Linked DNA regions of Homo sapiens: region 1 is linked to region 2. Evidence: promoter capture Hi-C in 16 types of primary human blood cells and fetal thymus (Javierre and others, 2016). All regions are on one chromosome and are shown on one strand. Each heading gives the region's core, a stretch centred on a gene start or on the middle of the fragment in contact. The rest is flanking DNA. Distances are from core to core; before and after follow the strand shown. Region 1 overlaps NKTR (natural killer cell triggering receptor). Region 2 holds the start of CCDC13-AS1 (CCDC13 antisense RNA 1).

Region 1 (4,172 bases), core at 128-2,627, 100 kb after region 2:
AAATTTCCTTGGCCCAGAAAACACCCAACCAGCTTCTTCTACAGTCACCAACTGTCAGACAGTCACTCTTGGGAAGCCTACAGGGTATATTTGGTTAAGATATTTTGAACCCAAGCTAGTTTTCCCATAGCATTTTCACAGATCTTCACATTATATGAATTGCAGTGGAAAAAATTCAAAAGCAGATAATTAGTCTCAGAATTATATACTACAAGCATCTTGATTTATAAGAATGAGAAACAGATATTTAAGAGCTAGAAAACAGAAATTTGAAAGAGAGAAAAATATCACTAGATGTCAGGCCATGTTAAAGCAGTCAACTGTACTAGAAGCTGCCATATAAATTTCTGTATTCATTTTAAGGCAATTTTAAGACATGTAAGTGAACAAAACCCAGTTTTTAACCTTCGTAACAATGCTAAAAATATTTATTCTACAAGGATTTGTAATGCTTATACTTACATTAAGAATATTCGGTTCTGTAAGAGCACTACAGAATTTAATTTAAAAAAATTAAAATGTCAACTTAAGAAGTTCCAGAATTTTAAAGGAAATATTAAGTTTTAAAAGCAAAAATCTCAAATATTCCTTAGAAGATTGAAAAGTGGAAATTCATGCCAATGTAATTATAAAAATAAAAACAGGCAGCAAAAAGAAAACAGAACAAAAACTATCTAGTGAATTAGTGAGCCACTAGTGTTTAAATCATTAAACTAGCATCCAGAAACCACCTTGGATGGTAACTTCAAGATAGAAATGTGCTTTAATTATAAAACTTTACCAAAGTACACTAAAGACAAGAAATTGGTACAGAAGCTAGTGACTCTATTATATGAAAGATGTAAAGAGTGCTTTTATTTTTATTTGTTTGTTTATTTTGAGATGGAGTCTCACTCTGTTGCCCAGGCTAGAGTGCGATGGCATGATCTCGGCTCAATGCAACCTCTGCCTCCCGGATTCAAGTGATTCTCCTGCCTCAGCCTCCTGAGTAGCTGGGATTATAGGCATGCGCCACCAGGCCCATCTAATTTCTGTAATTTTAGTAGAGACGGGGTTTCACCATGTTGGCCAAGCTGGTCTCAAACTCCTGACCTCAGGTGATCCACCTGCCTCAGCCTCTCAAAGTGCTGGGATTATAGGCATGAGCCACCACACCCAGCCAAAAGGGCTTTTAAAAAAGTAAATTTTTCTACAGTGTAAGGGATCAGCCCCAAATATTTAGAAGTAAAAACGATGTATGGTTTCCTGATTAGATACATTCCTTCTCCTTCTTTGATCCGTTCCTCCCATGACTCACAGATCCTGCAGTATTGGGGAAAGCCTGCAAATTTTTCTTAAAACATAAAGAGCCCAATTCAATTTGCCATCTTGGCTGATAGAAAGGCTGTAAAAACCACTTTATGGCAAACCTTTGGAGAAAATGGTGGAATAAAACATTCCAGAGTAGTGTAGCGATGCAGCAACATACTACTTGAGACTCAATTTGAGGATGGAATAGCTATCTTTATGACATTCAAGTTTAGTTTTTAATTCAAATGAAAACTGCCAAGAATAGGCAAACTTGGTCCTTTATAGCAGTAGTGCAGAAAACAAATGAAGACACGAATGACTATTTCAAGGACAACTCAGCCTGCCCATAGTGCCTAAACCTGATATGAATGATTAAAGTCCATTACTTGCATCTGCAACTCAAGATACAGAAATATAAGTCTGCACTTTAATTGGATTAGATTACATATTAAGAATACTAAAAGTATTTAACAAAAAGAAGCCCTCTGGGGTTCTCAACCTACATTCCAGGAGTAGAAATCCCAATGTAAAGCAGGGTTACTGGCACTTGGCTAATACGTGGATGAACAGAGGACATTAGCCAAAGAGGGTTACAAAAGGGCGGAGAGAAATAATATCCACAATCCAGACTATTCAATTCTACTAAAAGAGGCAGAGAGCTCATCTCACTAACTCTTAATCTTTCAAAATCTTCAATTAAAAGAAAAATTGCATTGATCTTAAAAGCGGCTGTTTAAAGAGCTGTGCAATGGTGACACATGCTCAGTAAGTTAAGGCCAGAGGCTATCAAAAATGTTTAAATTTATATATGCTTATGAAAACATACCTAAAAAAGAAAAAACCACAAAGAACATTTCAAATTGTAAAACCTTTCAATATTTATGCATTTCCATTTTTCTCTTGTACTTAAAGACAGTGATTTTTCAGTTTTCCCGACCCCTGAATCTACTTTAAAAAACATGTGTGCAAGGTATTTAAGCCTTATAAATCTTAGAAATTGACAAGTGTCACTGCTACTCCAAAAACAATCTATAGTTTTATACCATTATCAGAGAACCTTTTGCCCTTATACAGAAATGACTAATTCCACACTGAAATGAGAACTAAAACCATACTATAAACTAATAACCCCACTCCCCCACCAGAAGATGTACAGGAACTTGGTGGAAACAAGCCACTGAAGTTAAAATATAGTTCCCAGGATTAACCATGAAAAATAAAATGCACTTGTTTTACATGTACTGCTGCTATACAGATAAAGCAGAAAGTTTTTTTTTTTCTTAAAATGTTTCAATGCACATAACAACAGAATTAAAGAGATAAAGGCAAAGAGAGAGAGAGCCTTAGAGTAATGAGACATTACCTTTGGAGCGCACGGTGTAACACTCTTTCTGTAAATTTTACACAAAAATGGCAAGAAATAAATTGTAATACACTTTTAAGACAAGACTGAATCTATGTTTTAATATCAATATAACTTTGAAATTAATTATTTTCAAGTTTTATGCAGAGCAAGAAAGCTTTTTTAAATGGAGGGCTCTAAATTTTCTTTCATATGGGATATTTACGTAGAGATGAATTATGCTTAAGAAAAGCATCGTGGCTAAGTGGGAATCTATTTAGATCCTTAATATTGTAACATAGAGTGCCAATAATAGCTATTAACATATTACATTTCCTTTCACAAATCCCAGAAATTAGCTAAGACAACATTTTCTCAAAAGAGAATAGTGTATCTTGCATACATACATAAATATAAAAATCTGAATGCCCAGGACCAGTTACTACCAGTTGAAAGCAAAAATTTCATTAGAAAAAAGTGAGTTAAGATCATCCAAAATAAAATTTCAAGGAACTTTTAACTAATTCACATCAAATAATTAAAGAACCTTTCATGCTTCTACATTTGAAACCTTTGTTTGGTGACGTATCACAACAGACTACTTTCAGGAGTTAATGAGCAAATGTTCGGACCCTAGTTACTGTTCAGTGATATTAGATACACATTGAAGTTAAGTCACTGAACATAATAATAAAGCAGCATTAACTACAATTTTAGGGACCTTCTCAGAGAATAAAAAGGCAAGAGAGATGAAAGCGTAAGTGCAGTCAAATCTTAGCCACAATATCTTCTTTTCCTGTCTAATCTCTGATTTTCCCCATTATCAAGATTTTTTTTTGGAGAACACACACTGACCAATTTTTATCTATATTTAAACAAATAAATCTATTACTACTCAGATCAAAATACTATTATACCATGAACAAAATGCTTTATAAGAGTTTTGAATGTAATAAATCTTGAAATATTTAAAAATAAGCTTAAAATTATCATAAAGGCATTGACAACATGAATAAGTCAAAAAAGAACATAATGTTTGAAATAATGTGGAGTTTTCAATGAATGTTGCAAAAAAAAAAAATAAGTGACTGTAGGTGTAAAGTAGTACAGAAGAGGGAAATAAAGATAACTTCTGTCCACTTTAGCTTTTAACATGCAATGCTTTCCCTTCAACTCCTGAAACTATCACACTGTCAGGGAAGAGGCACCAAATTGTACAGAATGACAACACTTGTATAAGGGTAATGGAAACTAACCAAGCCACTTGACAATGCTCTACCCATGTGTTCCAAAAGTCACCAAAATAGAAGTGCTTTCTAAAATTCAGCACTAATGTTAAGATAATACACACCAAACATTACTAGATAAAAAATTTCTTCCACATTGCTAGCACGTAAGTCACATAAACATTAAGTTATTAAGCCTGAATGTTAGGGATGACACTTGATATTCAGAGAATATGGTTTATGGCTAAGTTTCACGAACATCTTTGCTCATGAAAAAATCTGAAATTAACATATGAAGGTATTACCCCAAAAAA
Region 2 (4,594 bases), core at 437-2,936:
GTTTTCTCAAAATGGGTGGGGCTGGGGGACAAGCCAGGTTGTTAGGGGCTTACACCGGTTGTCCACTCTGGTGGCCTGACCTCCTGCTGGGGGTCCTCTAATGTTCCTGTCCAGTCCAGCCCCAGCAGGTATCCAGAAGAGGAAGGGGTTGAGGGAGGGGTGGGGGCCTGGCAGGCTTAGCCTCCACCCAAGGCTGCCTGCCCTCACTGAGTCCCTGCCAGCCTCTCTGGCTGCAGGTGTCTGGAAGGTCCAGGTGTTCCAGCTGAGGAAGGCAGCTGGCCTCAAGTCACACCTGGTGTTCAACCACATGTGGGTGGGGCCGCCTGGAGAAGCGGACCCACTCAGAGACGTCAGTCTCTGACCTGCCCCGCATGCAGGGCCGTGCACCTCCCTCTGGAACCTGAATGTAGAACAGCTTCCTGGCCCAGTCACCGTCCTCACACCATGTAGCTTTCTTTCTGAAGAGAGGCATTATTAGATGTCATTATCATGCAAGTAGTGCCTTCACCAAACAGGCCTCGCTTTTCACTCCTGAAAAGAAGCCTCTTTCATATCCTCTGAAAGCCCCGAAATCAAGCCAAGATCCCCTCCTGCCTTCTCTAGGCCTCTGAGCCAAAGCCCTGAGGATGGAACCCACATCTGTTCCTACAGTATCTTCGGAATAAAGGAGTGGGTGAGGGGTCCAGTGGCCGCGAGGTCAGCCCTGCCTATACCCAGTTCCTGGAGGACCCAGGCCTGACCAAGTCCCCGGCCTCAGCAGGCGATCATGTTGGCAGGCTTGGATCTTCTCGGTAAGAAAACAATGGGAGGGAGGGGTTGGAAAGTGAACATTAATTATTCGGAAGAAAGGTTGTTTCTTGCTACCTCTGATGGGAAGCCACAGGTGCAATTTTAAGATGACTATGCTGTTGTTCTTCCAATACGTGGGCCTCTCCTATGACATTAGCTCTGCGTCTGCAGAAATGAGCCGGTTAGGCCCAGATTTTATCACTTCAAGAGCATGCTGGTTGCAGCTCTCTGTAAGAGCCTTTCTGAGCTGGCCTCAAAAGTTTTCTGCCCCTGGGGCCTTCAAACAGACCCGTGTTGGGTTGTTCAAGGCTCTGGTGTCTCCTGTTCTGTCTCATTTTGAGCAAACAAGAGTTCTGGAAAGAAGGGCAGCAAATCCACAGGACTGCTGCAAGGGTTTCCTGGACCCCTGCTGGCCACTGCTCCACCTCACATGCAGAGGTGAGGCCCAGTAGGGCCTGGTCTGCCTTCCCAGGCTGATGGGCCCCTTCCGCCTTTACACAGCTCTGTGACCAGCCTGGGCCACACACTGGTGGAATCTGCTCTCACGAGGCCTTCCCTGCCCAGTCCCCACAGGACCTCACCTAGGTATGGACCCCCGACCCCCGGACTCTCACAGTTTTTTCCCATTCTTGATTGCTCAACCAGTATTGCCATCCCATTAAAAGGAGGGGAAACTGAGGCCAGGCAAAGTCCAGGGACTCTTCCAAGGTTACATAAAGACAGGGAGGATCAGGGAAGTCCTGTCCAAGATGATAGAGTAAGCAGCTTCAGAACTAGAATCTTGGCCTCTGACTCCCAGGCTAGGGTTCCTACCTGCTACGTGAGAATTAACCTGAGGAACCTTCCTGGGCCTGGCTTCTAGCACCTTCCCTCATCTTCTCTTGCTCATTGAGAATCAGCCTCTAAGGGGAGAATTTCACATGATATGGGTTCCCACTGATATCCCCTCAGACCTTGGGCCCCCTCTTTGTTGACAGAATCAAGCCAGAGGGTGTAAATGGGCCCTTTGTTCCTACTGCCAGCCCATAGACAAAGGACAGCGTTGTCCTGCCTCTAAGCCCTGTCCCGAGCCCTGCCCACTGTCCACTGGAGCCATGCTCCTGCTGTCAACACTCCCCACCCTGACCCCTCAGGCAGGTCAGCTCAGGTTCCAGGCAAAGCCTCCAAGTGGCCCCAGTCCCTCATCTCTGTGGCTCCAGGCAAACTGGTCCTTCTCTGGGCTGCTATCCCCGAAAAGTGGGGGACAGCATGCTGCTGACACTTGGCAGCATAGGGTCTGTGGGCCAAAGCTGCCCCACCCATCAGGCTGGGGTCATAAAGGCACTTGGGGAGAGTGGGCTGACACTGAGCCACAAGGCATGTGCCACGCTCCTTAGGGTGGGAGGTCTTGTCACAGCACAGGGAGATTGGGGAGGCTCTGCCTCTCTGAGGTTTTAGTCACAGTAAAGAGAGCAGGAAGATGGACAAGATGACCCCTTCGAGCCCCTTCCAGGCCTGTGTGGCTGTGACCTCTGTGCCACACAGAAATACAGGAGCTGCTCTGTGCCTTGGCTGCCCAGACTGCTGGTTGTCAGGCTTGTTTCTTCCACAACACACAAATACTTACTAAACTCGACCATGTGTGGGCCCTACCCTCATGGAGCTTACAGTCCCCTCCCACAGGTGACAGGACAGGAATTCACAGGGCAGAGTGATCCCAGAGAGTATGTCTATTCGGGCTGGCATGGTTTGAACCCATTCCCTTCAGGTGACTCTGGTGGGGTGCCTGGGAGGAGGGCAGAGTGAAGAATCGGCCCTTTGCTCCTGCTCCTCCTCTTCCCACATTCTAGAACTGGGGAAATGAATGGGGCTTTCCAAACTGCAGTGCACACACAGAGCCCCTGCTGATCAGCCAGGTCAAGTGTGGGTTCTGATTCAGCAGGTCTGGGGTAAAGCCTGGGATTCTGCATTTCTAACAAGCTGCTAGGAGATGCCAGAGCCACCGATTCAGAGACCACTTGTAGTAGCAAGGCCTTAGAGCATATTTAGGAGTCACAGAGGGGTCTGCAGTTCTCGGAGCCCATCTAAACCACCCCTCTCAATGTTTAGTGGGGGAACTGGGGCCAAGAGAGAGGAAGAGACCTGCCCAAGACCACCGAGAAGTCAGCCCTCAGGATCACATGCCCCAGCCCAGTTTTCAGTACACTGCCCAGCTCTGCAGCCTTCCCTATGCCCTGTACTGCTAGAAAAGTAAGCTCAGGGTCTCACTGGGAAAAGTGGGGGCACAGCGGAGAGCAGCTTGGAACTCACATGTGGGCTCTGGGGGGTTGAAGTTGGGGGGCAGAGTTTACCTTCTGTCCTGGCTCCAGCCAGCAGGTAAGAGGGAAGCAGTGATGGGTTGGCTTAGGGCTGGAGAAAATTGAACAAGTCACAAAGCCAAATGCACAGGCTCCAGGAAAGTGGGCTGGGCTTGGGGACCAAGCCAGAAGATGCAGGAGGGCTGGGAGAGACTGGCAGGGACACAGAGACTGGGCACACCTGACACTGGGTAGGGCAGCCAGGCCCCAAAGGCCACACAGATACCCAGGGCACCCCAGGTCCCCAAGAGCCACCTGCCACAGCACCAGACTAATTCCAGGCCCCCACAGGGCTTGGATGGACAGAGGTACCAGTGTAACTCTAGTTCTGGTAGGTTCAGCTTTGGAGCCTAGGGACTTCAGCAGGACCAGGAATGGTGGGCAAAGAAGCCAGCAGGGGAGGACCTAGAGGGACTGGGTTTGCTTCCTTTGCTCTGGCTGACATTCGCCCTGAATGTCCTTCTAGTCCCTCCAACCATCACAGGGGTAAGTGTTATTTCTAGGCCTCGGATGACCTCTGCCCTCTGCCCTCCACCCTGGTCCCAGGTTCTCGGACTCCCCAGAACAAAAAGGCTGGCAGGCACAAGTGTCAGAGATCAAGGCCCTCTGGCAGGCTGCCGAGGTGGAGCGTGACCGGCTCACCGAGTTTGTCACTGTCCTGCAGAAACGGTAACACATGGCACCCAGGGATCTCTCCCATAGGCCTGCATGTGGTGGGGACTGGGGCCAGGCCTCATTTATGACTGGGTCCTCCTCACCTGAGAGCTCGGCTCCCAGTGTTGGTCCAGGGCATTCCTAGCCACAACTCATGCGCCCCACAACCTTGGGGCCTTGTCGTCACACTGTGTTTTGCCCTTAGGAACAGCCCCATTCTACATGCACCCAATGGGACTGTTGTATGGCATGTGGACATTGCTGGGAGTCTCGGGGGAGAGACACCCAGAAGTAAATCAGTCAAATCAATCCATCAATAATTAAAATCTGTGATGAGCCTGGCACTGTGCTTGGTGCTGCTGGAGGGTTTGGTGGGAAGAAAACACAAGCTAGACTGACATCTGGAATTGGAAAGAACAAGAGAGGTGCTGATAGCTGGGGAGGCAGGGAGGGAAGCACGAGGCCTGAGGCACTGGACCAGGAGGTATGGTTTTCTCTAAAGGGTTGTTGACAGACTTCCGTTCAGATAAATCAGTGCTCCTCGCTCAAATGATCCTTTTGGCAAGAATTGCAGGTGTCCAGGCCAACACATGGCTCAACCATGTGACCTCCACACTGAAAAATATTAAGCACACCACTGAGTTTCTGCCCTAACAGGCTATATCATGTATCAGTCAAGGCTCTTTGATGACAGACAATAGAAAGCAATTCTGGCTGAATTCAGTGAAAGGCAGATTTTTGGAAGGTACTGGCAGACTCCAATGCAGAGAGCAGGAGAGGAGCCTGAGAAGGTGCAGGCATCTTTGGTAGCAGGA

The links. Contacts are between HindIII fragments. The CHiCAGO score rates a contact against its expected background, and 5 or more counts as called.
Region 1: a contact is called between a fragment that was not itself captured here and the fragment with the promoter of CCDC13-AS1 in region 2, in 3 of 17 cell types (M2 macrophages, M0 macrophages and M1 macrophages). The highest score is 8.2, in M2 macrophages.

What each region holds. Positions count from the first base shown.
Region 1 is chr3:42,625,709-42,629,880 of GRCh38, reverse strand. The region is part of intron 6 of NKTR (natural killer cell triggering receptor); the gene reads right to left. The region is part of intron 1 of ZBTB47-AS1 (ZBTB47 and NKTR antisense RNA 1); the gene reads left to right. Among named protein-coding and RNA genes, the nearest start is that of ZBTB47, 26 kb to the left of the region's middle. The HindIII fragment of the contact is 2,871 bases long and covers 1-2,812 here.
Region 2 is chr3:42,729,667-42,734,260 of GRCh38, reverse strand. It overlaps CCDC13-AS1 (CCDC13 antisense RNA 1), which reads right to left and starts at 1,686. Exons shown (of 4, transcript NR_046732.1): 1 at 1,603-1,686. CCDC13 (coiled-coil domain containing 13) reads left to right here. Exons shown (of 16, transcript NM_144719.4): 11 at 652-791; 12 at 1,291-1,374; 13 at 3,672-3,794. RefSeq lists enhancers at 1-454, 455-1,140, 1,670-1,964, 3,317-3,816 and a silencer at 1,670-1,964. The HindIII fragment of the contact is 15,297 bases long and covers 1-4,594 here.